Regions from separate parts of the Homo sapiens genome. Here region 2 is linked to region 1. The links are contacts of gene promoters, found by promoter capture Hi-C in blood cells and fetal thymus (Javierre and others, 2016). All regions are on one chromosome and are shown on one strand. The core of a region is centred on a gene start or on the middle of the fragment in contact, and the rest is flanking DNA. Distances in the headings are between cores, read along the strand shown. Region 1 holds the start of TMCC2 (transmembrane and coiled-coil domain family 2). Region 2 has its middle 6.1 kb from the start of TRK-TTT8-1.

Evidence for each region. Contacts are between HindIII fragments. The CHiCAGO score rates a contact against its expected background, and 5 or more counts as called.
Region 2: a contact is called between a fragment that was not itself captured here and the fragment with the promoter of TMCC2 in region 1, in 1 of 17 cell types (naive B cells). The highest score is 5.3, in naive B cells.

Annotation. Positions count from the first base shown.
Region 1 is chr1:205,224,238-205,230,097 of GRCh38, forward strand. It overlaps TMCC2 (transmembrane and coiled-coil domain family 2), which reads left to right and starts at 3,709. Exons shown (of 5, transcript NM_014858.4): 1 at 3,709-4,534. The coding sequence starts at 4,328. RefSeq lists an enhancer at 3,360-3,499 and a silencer at 3,630-3,809. The HindIII fragment of the contact is 5,482 bases long and covers 666-5,860 here.
Region 2 is chr1:205,477,268-205,483,127 of GRCh38, forward strand. No RefSeq gene overlaps it. Among named protein-coding and RNA genes, the nearest start is that of TRK-TTT8-1, 6.1 kb to the left of the region's middle. RefSeq lists a silencer at 3,772-3,831 and an enhancer at 4,007-4,607. The HindIII fragment of the contact is 1,242 bases long and covers 2,322-3,563 here.

The DNA of each region.
Region 1 (5,860 bases), core at 2,459-4,958:
TGGGAAAATGTAATAATGTTGAAAATGCTGCTGAGTACATTTCAAGTAAAAAATAGGATAAAATTTAGTTTAGGCTAATAAGAGCTTTCTCCAATCAGGAGTGATATAGAGCCTTCCTGGTCCTCTCTTCCTTTTACAATAGCCAGTAAAAAGCCTGTATTTAGGTGGTGGGATTGTGACAACATCAACAATCCAGACAATCTTCTTAAGGATTATTTGCATAGTTTACTCTTCCTAATCCAACAGAACTCAATTTCTTTTAAGGAGTGCACTGCGTGGAAGTGGTCATCTCCAACAAAAAGGGAAGAGAATTACATTAACAAAGGAGTATATGCAATGATATTGGTATCAAAATTCAGTGAGCAAAATTATTATATCTAGTCCCTCTAGAGAGTACTTTTACCTTTGAATCACTCTACTCAGTATGTTAAATCTTAAAATAGCGCACTGACAACCACTTATCCATTTGATGTTTAAATGTTTTTTTAAGTATTGCTATGGAATAGGACATAGAATTGCCTTGGATAATCTGCAAGCTTCTTACTATTGGCAAAAAGAGAAGCCTTTTATTTTTCAGACCTAATTGCTTTTACAAAAAGAAAGAAAACAAAACAAAACCCTACTCTACACTTTGTTAATCTTGGCACCTTATCCTCTATAATGAAAGCTTCAACCATTTATCAAACTAAATGAACTGGGTGTTGACAAGAGAGCAGGATTCCATAATTCTGCCCTTTATACTCCTTGTGTGTATACTTATTGGTTTAGCAAATTTGATACTACCAGAGTGCTCCCTTTCATTAGTTTAACTGGGATTTCTGTTCACAAAAAGCATTCAGCTTATTGGGATAATTCTCTTTCTCATATGGTATATGGGGGGCTTGGACAAGTTAATTATTTTTGTTTCACTTAGTTTTACTGCACATATACCATGTGTCAAGCATTTTCACGTGCATTATCTACCTTCATCCTCACAATAACCAGTGAAGATAGATAGTATTAGCCCTGGTTTATAGATGAGAAAACCGAGGGTGAAAGAGGTTAAGCTCACAAGAAGTAACCGAACTAGAATGCTTACATGAATTTTCTGACACCAAGACCAATGTTCTTCCCACTAAATCATGTTATTTCCTTGTAATTAACTAGGTGTGCCAAAACAGAATGGAAATGCTACTCCTACATAGAAAATATAATCACTTGCATTGTGTATCTGCAAACTTTTGTCTAATCTTGAATATCAAAACATAATTTGTGCCTATATTTTCCCAAAGAAACGTAGAATGATAGAATAATCTAATGCCGTAAACAAAATTTCAACCAACCAAAGTACTTTCAAGTTCTGATTTTCTTAGGTGCTCAAGAATTTGCTGCGGCTAATGAAAATTTGCCATTGGCTTCAAACTGGTGGTTATAGGTCACTCAGGTCTCTACACAGACTTCTCAGCCAAACTTCTTTGGCAGTAGCACACTTATTCCATAATATGACACTCAGTGAAAGTCAGAAATTGGTGGGACACATTTGAACTCCTGAAGATAGAAGCATTGGAGTGAAATGTGCAACACTTCTGAAACTGGATGACATCTGTGGTTATAGCTATGGCCCTCATTCTTTGCTAGGCAATGTCCAAGTGCTTTACATATATTACCCAACACCCTGTATGGTAGGTACTGTCATTATCCCTACTTCCAAATAATTCAGAAACTGGAGCATGAAGAGGTTAGATAACGTGTCCCCACTCACATGGTCAGTGAAGAGCAGAGCTAGGATTTGTCCCCTATCTGGCCATAGAGCCTGAGCTCTTAACCATTATGCTATGATGCCTCTCCAAAATGGAATGTAAAGTATTAGCTGATTTTATGAAACACACCACAGACTTTTTTGCTGACCTGAATCACACCTTGCAAATATGACGACAAGTAGAAAATGTGGCTGTCATGCTGTATGTATATGATAATATAAAAATCAAACTTAAGACCAACTTTTATCTAGTATAGAAATGAGGCATAATTCAAAATTATAATGCTCTCTGCTTCCTTAAACGAAACCAAATCCCTTCCTTAAACCAAATCCCTTCACTTTCCTTCGGCTTCGAGTCAGGTCATGAACATGTGTCAATGCATGCTCACCATTTGCTGGCCACCGCGTGCCCCTCAAGACTTGCTCAGGGTCTTTGGGGCCGCTGCACTTATCTGGGCCAAGTCAGGCAGGGAGCAGTATATTCCTCTGCTTGAAACCTTGCACCATGGGAACCTGCCCCCACCGGTTCTGTCTAGTCCTGCCCACGGTCTACACTGGCATCCTGCCATCCCCTCACCATTGAAAATGCTAAATAAAGGCTTATAGCTTTGTGTTTCCACATTGTGCTCGATTCTTTGTGGTAGATGTGGGGGGTGGTTCCACATTCCCAGCCCATCCTAAATTCCTATCTTCTAAAAGTGGAGCTGCCTAGTTTAGAAAGTAGCTGCTTGGCTGAAGTAAATTCTTAACAAATTAGTCTCTTCTAGGATACACATTAAAATGAGTGGTTGGAATGGGAAGAAGACAGAACAGAAAGTCAAGAAACTCCGACTAGTGAGACTGAAGTGAGGCTACAATGGCATGATGGGTGCGAAAGAGATTGGTAAACTGTAAAATCCTTTAGAGACCGTGTGGCCCCTTCACTGTCTAGGCCAGTGGTTCTCAAAGGGTAGTGTGTGTCAGAATTACCTGGAGGGCTTGTCAAAACACAGATTTCTTGGCTCACTACTTCTGATTCTCTAGGTCTGGCTGGTGGCCAAGAATTTGCATTTCTATCAAGTTCCCGTGTGATGCTGAAGTTGCTAGTCCAAGGATCACAATTTGTGAACCACTGGTTGCTGGATGAGTAAAATCCATTGTGTCCACAGGAGGCATACAATAGACACTCAGATGGGGTTGTTATTATTACTACTCTCCATATCTTGGTAACCCCAACGTTTGCTCTCTTCTGCTTCCAGATTACTCAGCACAGTTTGGCTGAGATTTATGCAAAGAGAGACAGCATTCCCTTTCCACACATCTATATGTAGCAACCTCCTGCCATTAATACCCTTTCTTATTTAAAAGCTGCTTCACAGTTTGTAAGGAACTCTCACATACGTTATTGTGTTTTTATATGAAATTCTTCCCAATTTCTGAGCATAAATTATGCCAAGTAAAGTCTCATTAAGAAATAATGCACTTAAAGCGGGGGACGGGGCGATGAGGAGAGAACGCCCCCTCCCCTTGGCATTTGCAGCTCTGAATGTAGGCATAGATTTAACTCAGACCAAGTATCCTAGAGGGGATAGGTGTCTCCCTTATGGCTAGAAGGTGCAAAGTTAAGAGCCCCAAAAAGCAGTGATAATAAACATCCCTCTTGTGCTCCTTCTCGCCAAATAAAGCGAATGGGTGGAGGAAATCCTGGGCGAGCCCTCCTCGGCAGGGTCCCTCAAGCTGGAGCCGAAACTGCGACTCCCACGCCCGCCGCCCCCGCCCCTGAACTGCAGCCCGCTCTCTGCAATGCAAAAACGCAGCAGCATCGTCCTCCAGCCCTCTCCTGGGGGATCGCACGGTGCAACCAACCCCAAAAACGAAGCTGCGCGACGCCCCCTCAGCCCCGCGGGCTTCCCATTGGCCGGTTGCCGCTGTCACTCCCTCCTAGCCTCGCCTTCCCGCTCCCGGGCGGAGGCAGCCGGGCGGGGTAGGTTGCGCGCTCGCCGCGGGCTCGGGCCGCGGTCGCGGCTTTGCGGCAGGCTGCGCGTCAGGCGGGGAGCGGGGCGCGCGGGCCGGGGAGGGGGCCGGGCGCGCTGCGGGCTCCGCGGCCGGACCATGCGGGGCAGGGGCCGGTTGCAGGGCCGGGGGCTGCAGCCGGCGCCGATGGCGGCCGACTAGGACCTGCCCGGCCGGCTGCCCCGCGCCCCGCCTCGCCCCGCAGCCCGGCCGGCCGGGAGGGATGCGCTGTGCCGCCCAGCTCCTCTCCGTCCTGCCCATGCCCTGAAGCAGAAAGTTTGGGGGCCGGGGGTTGTCTCCCTTCTCCCTCCTGCAATGACTGCCCAAGGACTCTTGCTGCCCAGCCTCGACTGTGACCTGTCTTCGCTCCCCAGGTCGAAATGAACTATTCCAAGCTATAACCAAGGCTCCCCCTTCTCGCCCCTCCCTCACCCGCCTTTAAGAATTTTTTTTTTAATTCAAGAAATTGTGGTCTGCCATCTCCCCTCCTTGTTAATAATTTAGACCCCAGGCCTCATATGAATATAAGAGGGGGTGCGGTCTTCCCCAAGACGGCGCGCTGGAAGGACAGATTCCCCTTGCCGACCCACATACACCATGAAGAGGTGCAGATCGGACGAGCTGCAGCAACAACAGGGCGAGGAGGATGGAGCTGGGCTGGAAGATGCCGCTTCCCACCTGCCGGGCGCGGACCTCCGGCCTGGGGAGACCACGGGTGCTAACTCTGCTGGCGGGCCAACTTCAGACGCCGGCGCTGCCGCGGCGCCCAACCCAGGTCCCCGAAGCAAGCCTCCTGATTTAAAGGTGAGCGCAGACCATCCCCCCGGCAAGCCCAGCCCGCGACTTAGCTCTCGCCACCCCACGCAGAAGTGCTTTAACAGGATAAAAGTGAGGGGGGAAGCCAGGCAAAGGTCAGAGAGGATGAGCGGATGCTTTGCTGGCACCCCAGGGGGGACGTCAGGTACCATTTATGCCTCTGTCTTTCAGCTCCGTGTCAGGTCTCTGTGTTTGTTCCCCATTATTCAGCAAGCGTTTTAGTGACTCACCCATCCGAGATTGTTTGAATAATGTGTGAAGTGTTATTCGCAGACAAAGGGCTGGAGAAATCCAAGATGCTAACCAAAAAGTGGACAGCAGGTGACCATTAGTTTTCCTTGCTGAGTAAGTCTCTACCCATTGGGATCTTTGTGTGTGTGTGTGTGTGTGTGTGTGTGTGTGTGTGTGTGTGTGTATGTGTGTGAGACGGAGTCTCGTTCTGTCGCCCAGGCTGGAGTGCAGTGGCGCGATCTCGGCTCACTGCAACCTCCACCTCCTCGGTTCAAGCGATTCTCCTGTCTCAGCCTCCAGAGTAGCTGGGATTACAGGCACCCGCCACCACGCCCGGGTAATTTTTGTATTTTTAGTAGAGACGGGGTTTCGCCATGTTGGCCAGGCTGGTCTTGAACTGACCTCAGGTGATCTACCCGCCTCGGCCTTCCTAAGTGCTGGGATTACAGGCGTGAGCCACCGTGCCGGGCCCCATTGGGATCTTTGAGCGCTTTCCTGGATGAAGCTCAGTTTGCCGATCTGTGAAGGGGCGGGGGGGGGGGGGTGGTGGCGGGGGCGGGGGGGGAAGGTGGATTTCCTGCCGTTAGGTGGAGCCAGAGGTTAAGATAGTGCTTGGAGATCTCTGCCTGCCTGCTGAACCAACCCCCAGGGTGGAGAACTGACAGGTGGTGGAGCAGTGCTTGGGCTGGTTTGGGGCCTCAGTTCAAGTTGCATACATGCTGAGCCAGCAGCTAGAACCAGAAGCCGAAAGAACTGTTCACATGGAGCTGTTTATTTTCCGGCCTGAGGTTGCCGAGACAATTGGCGAGCTGTCTTGAATATATCTCTATCAATTAAAACAGCAGCTGAGATAAATAATGCACCTTTGCCGGAACTGCCACAGGGACTGCAGGCTCAGGCTTCTCAAGCCAGCTCACCGTCCAGCTGAGCGAGATGTCAGCCCAAGGAAGGAACTTAGATGCCTTGGAAATTGATGCCTCACAGTTATTTTCTCCAGAGAAGGTGCAGGGTCTGGGCTAGGGAAACGGAAAGGACTCTGTTGCATTTAATAAAGCCTATATCCTATGGCAGCAGCCACTAAGG
Region 2 (5,860 bases), core at 1,693-4,192, 250 kb after region 1:
TAGATCACTCCCATCACCATTAGAATGGGCTTCCCAACATCTATGACTCAACATCCCCCTCAACTGAGTGAGACTGTCAGATCCCTGCCCCCATCCCCCACCCCTACCTGCTATGGCCTAGCTGAGCTCCAAGGATGAAGACCCCGCGGCCCCAGGTGTGCCTGCGAAGCTGTATGTGGGGTGAGGAGCACACTGGTGAGCAGGGTGTGAGCCCTGGGACTGTCACAGCCCCGTAAGGTTCAGAGCAGGCTCCTTCCCACCTTGGCCCGGGTCTCCTGGGAGTGTGGTGAGGCACAGGGCTGGCTGTCTGCTGACATTCTCAGTCCTTCCAGCAGGGTACATCCTCTGCCCTTCCCCCTGAGGGGTTAACCATCAGGACTGCCCCTCCTTCCTCAAACCCTGGCAGTTCCAGGGGTGCCCTCTGTCCCAGGCCTGGCCTGGCCAGCTGCCCCCTCCATTCTGCAGGGCCATGTGGATTCCCTCTAGCTGTCCCTGGTCCAGGCGCTCAGTGGCAGAACTGTAAATCCTCTAGGCTGGCTCCAGACTCTACCTGCCTGGGCACCTGCTTCGGAGGACGGGCCTGCCTTTCCCGCCCCCGGCAGATGGCCACTGCGCCTTGGGATCTGCAAGCAGGAAAAGCAGCACCAAGCATCCCCTGACTGGGCCTCCCTTGGTCCTGGCCCGCTTCCCTCACACCCCTCCCCAGGCAGCGTGCCCCTGCCCACCTGTGGGCAGCACTGGCTGTTGGCTCCAGCCCATTCCAGTGCTCATTCTGACGGTTAAGTCAGACGTCACTCCACAAATATTTTTGGCCTCCTTGCTCTGAGCCAGGCACTGTGCCAGGCCCTGGGGATACCAAGATGAATGAGGAAGCTAGAGGGTACTGCCCACAAGGACTCAGGAGAGCAGAGCAAGTAACACAGAACGCAATGTAGTAAAAGCAAGGGCATTGTTCATAAAACAGAGCTAATCACACGCAGGCACTGCTGTAAGCACTTTATGTACATTAGGTCATGTAGTTGCACAGCTCCATGGTGGAGGTCTCATTACAAATACGGAAGCTGAGGCTCAGAGAGGTGAGGACATTTGTCCAGGGCCACCCAACTACTACAGGGTCGAGGTAGGATTCAAACCCAGGCTGTCCAGCTGTCCAGCTCGAGCCTAGCTTTTATTTATTTATCTATTTATTTATTTGAGACTGAGTCTCACTCTATCACCCAGGCTGGAGTGCAGTGGTGCTATCTTGGCTCACTGCAACCTCCGCCTCCTGGGTTCAAGTGATTCTCGTGCCTTAGCCTCCAGAGTAGCTGGGATTACAGGCATGCACCACCACACCCGGCTAATTATTGTATTTTTCAGTAGAGGCAGGGTTTCTCCATGTTGGCCAGGCTGGTCTCAAACTCCTGACCTCAATTGATCTGCCTGTCAAGGCTAGCTTTTAAACAATGTTAGATTGCTTCCAGATGAACCCAGGAGGAAGAAGCTCAGAGGGCATCTCTGAGCTGCCTGGAGAGGTAGTGAGGGATCACCGGGCAGCTGGCTTTCTCTTCCCAGAGGCATTGAACTGATTTAAATATGGCTCTAAACACAGTGAGCTGGCAGGGGCCTTGGGGCCTCATGATATTAAGCCCTTAATGGTGTGAAGCCCTTCCAGGTACTAAAGGGCAGCAATGTTGGCCCTTGGCATGGGAGGGCAGGGAGGGAGGAGGGCCATGGTGCCAAGAATCTGTAACCACAAGACACCATGTCTCAAAAAAAAAAATTTTTTTTGAGACAGGGTCTTGCTCTGTTGCCCAGGCTGGAGTGCAGTGGCACAGTCTTGGCCCACTGCAGCCTCAAACTCCTGGGCTTAAGCTGTCCTTCCACCTCAGCCTCCCGAGTAGCTGGGACTACAGGTGTGTGCCACCATGCCAGGCTAATTTTTTAATTTTTTGCAGAAGTGGGGTCTTGCTATGTTGCCCAGGCTGGTCTCGAACTCTGGGTTCAAGCAATCCTCCCACCTTACCCTCCCAAAGTGCTGGGATGACAGAAGTGAGCTACTCCTGGCTAAGACACCCTGTCTTTGGTGCCAATATCACCACATGAGCAGAGGGCAGTCCTGGGGGTCCCAATGAGGCCTCTCCACCATTTATTTTATTCATTCCATTATAGTCCATACTTGCTTGATCACCACACTTATTTCATTGCCTGTCTATCTCCTAAGTCTCCAAGTTCCCCCATGAGCCATCACACCTGGGCAGGGCATGAATGTTAACATGTATCCCCAGGACCATGGTGATGGGGAGGGGGGTGGGGTGGTGGGGGGTGGGGGGGCAGGGTGAAGCTTCATTCATAAGCACCCTCACTCCTCACTACAAACTCTCAGAGAGTTCTGAGAACTCTCCAGGAACAATGTTGCAACCATTCGTTCCACACATATTTATCAAGGGCCTCCTGTGTACCACGCAGGATTTAGGCACCAGGAACCCAGATCCGCCCTCAAGGACCTCTAGTGCAGCAGGGGAGACAGAGAAGAAAGCAGGCAGCCACGTGCTAGGGAGAGCCAAGCCACGGGGGAGACCAGTGGCTCTTGGGGGTGGACTGATGACTGCAGGGTGAAGTTATCCCTTTGAGGGGCCCAGACACTGAGCTGAGAAATGGCACAATTGCTAGAGAGAGAATTACAAGAAAAGCTGAGCTGTGGATACAAACGTGTGAGACAGAGAGGGGCAGGAGAAGAAGCCAGGCTGGCAGGGGTAGGGGGGTAATAATTCCAGTTCTAACTGCTTCTACACAGAAAAACTCATTCAATCCTCGCAACAAGTTTATGAGGCAGGTACTCTTAAAATACCGATTTCATAGGTGAGAAAACCATTGGCACAGAGAGGTTCAGTGACTTGCCTCGGACACACAGCTAGAAAGTAACAGGTAGGTTTTTTTTTTTTTTTTGAGACAGAGTCTTGCTCTGTCACCCAGGCTGGAGTGCAGTGGTGTGATCTCAGCTCTTGCAACTTCCACTTCCCGGGTTCAAGCTATTCTCCTGTCTCAGCCTCCAGAGTAGCTAGGATTACAGGCGTGCACCACCACACTGGGCTAATTTTTTGTATTTTTAGTAGAGGTGGAGTTTTACCAAGTTGGCCAGGCTGATCTCGAACTCCTGACCTCAAGTGATCTGCCTGCCTCGGCCTCCCAAAATGCAGGGATTACAGGTGTGAGCCACTGCGCCCAGCCACAGATAGGATTTGAACCCAGGAAATCCGGCTCCAGCATCTGTGCTTCTAACCACCATACTGCACGGCTGTGGCAAGCAGGAGTCAAACCATAGACATCCTTTTGGTCATACTAAGGAGCCTAAAATGCTCTCCCAGGGGATGCGGAGACCCTGGAAGTTTGAACGGGAAAGAGGGATGAGGCTGGAGGCCGCATGGAGGATGGGTTTCAGGGGTGAGGCGCGAGGGCAGCCAGGAGGCTGTTGCTGCAGCCAGGTGAGAAGAGGTCCAAGGCAGCGGTGGGAGAGGGCAGGATGAATTTGAGAAAAACCAAGAAGGTAAACTTGGCAAAATGTGTGACTGGCAGGAAATGAAAGCTTGTGAAGAGGGAGGTGTGAAGAGGGGCTTTCCGATCTCTGGCTGGGTGCTTGGGGGAGGGTGCGCCACCGGCCAGGCCACCGAACACAGGAGAAAGGCTGTCGGAGTGACGCTGAGTTGAGGTTGGGGTGTGTTGTCTTGGAAGTATTTGCGGGACGCCCAGGTGGAGGTGCACAGCAGTCAGTAGAACCCCACAGCCCTGCTGCTACACCAAACCCATCTTCTCCCCACCCACCCTGCCCCCTCCCCCAGCCCCATCTTCCTCACCCCCCTCCTCCCTCCATTCTAGAGCCACCAGACTCCTGGAAAGCCCCAGTGCTTCCTCTGGGTTCCCAAGTCCTTGCACCTGTGTGGCACCAGGGCCTCCTCCCTGAAGCAACAGTTCGCCTCCCGTGGAGTGGGCATCGCAGATCCGCTCCCATTTCCGGCCTGCCCTTAATGTCCTCAGATGCTGGGATGGGAGTTTTCTAGTCTGTTTTCCCCTGGCAGCAGTGGGGACTTGATCTCCCTCCACGTCGTGTGGCCACAGCCTGTGACTCCATCCCCGTTAAGTGAACCAACACCGAATTGAGGAAGATCCCGTGCCGACCTGCACACTGATCTGTTGCAAGTCTGCTCATCAGGGTTCCTAGAGGGCAGCCACCTGGGCTGTGGCAGGGAAAGAACTGGGTGTGTAGGGGAATCAGGAAGGGGGATTTGTGGCAGACAGAGCTTGGGATGAGATGGGACCCAGGGTGCCTGGGAGAGACCTCTCACCAGAGGTTAGGAATCTAGATGCTAACCCTGGCCCTGCTACTGTGCTGCTGTGTGACCTTGGGCATGTTACCCAACTGCATGCATCTCCTCTGTCATACTCAGGCTCAACAGCATAGCCTGGCAGCCGGACATGTGGGCTGTCGACCTCCCTGTGTCACCTTCCTGCAGGGCGGCCTCTCTGCCATCAGGAGAGGGGAAGCCCACAGAGCCACAGTGAGCAGTGCTGGAGGGGTGGGCGCTTGGCAGAAAGCCCAGCAAGGTGTTTTAGCAGCAACAGGACAATAGAGCGGCTTAGCACCGGGAGCTTATTCTGCTTATTTTCCCATCTGTGTGTCGGGACATGCCAGGGCTGGGTGTCTACATTTCGGTAAGCCTCTTGCTACAATAGCATTCTCAGCAGCTTCAGTCACTTAGACCACAGTGGTAATCCGCTCAGGAAGAGCCCAGCCCTCGCCGCAGCAGCCCGGGGGGCCGTATTTGGGGCAGGACGCCCGTCTGCCTCTGCAGCCACTCCTATTGCCTGCCTGCCTCTCTTTCCTTGTCCAGTGTGTCACCTTCAGATGCCCTACAGGCCCCCCAACAAGGGTGGGTCAGTGGGAGCACTGATGGGTCCCTCCCAGCTGAAGGGAATTAGGTTAGACATGAGGAAGAACTGTCCCAGTGTTGGGGTGGCAAGTAAAGAGGAAGGTGGTTTCTTTTTCCCTAAACAGTTTTAAAAATATTAGCTATTCTTCTATCTGAGGTACAGTCAGGTGAGTTTGGCCTGGGGGCAGGGAGATGGCCACTGAGCCCCTGGAAAGGAGTTGAGTGGGGCTGGGCTTGGGGGAGGGAGGGCTACAGCAAAGACATGGGTGAGGAGGAGCTCTGGAAATAGCTCCCCCAAGGGGAAACATCTCCCTTTCCTCCTTGAGGTAACTGATCAGACTGGGAGTTCTGAGTCCTGGCTGTAGGGGCTGCCAGATTCTAGAAGCCTCTCTGACCCCCAGGTTCCTTTTCTGTCACACAGTTTTTGAGTAACTATAAAACATCTCTGGGCTGGGTGCGGTGGCTCACGCTTGTAATCCTAGCACTTTGGGAGGCTAAGGCAGGAGGATCGCTTGAACCCAGGAGTTTGAGACCAGCCTGGGCAATATAGCAAGACCCCATCTCTACAAAAATTAAAAAAAATTAGTCAGGCATGGTGGTACATGTCTGTAGTCCCAGCTATTTGGGAGGCTGAGGTGGGAGGATCGCTTGAGCCCGGGACGTCGAGGCTACAGTGAGCCGCGATCAAACCACTACACTCCAGCCTGGGCAACAGAGCAAGACCCTGTTCTCCCTCACCGCTCCCCCTCAGAACCGCTCCCCCTCAGAAAAGTCTCTGATCTGACACTCTCAGCATTTGATACTATTCACCCCTTCTTCCATTTTGAAATGTTCTTCCTTAATTATTGAAAGCAATATTCTTCAGGCTCTCTTGCATCTTCCATAGGAATTAGGAATCTTCTATTTGCAGGAAACAGAAAAGCTCTCTACCTAACAGGCTAAAAAATACAGGA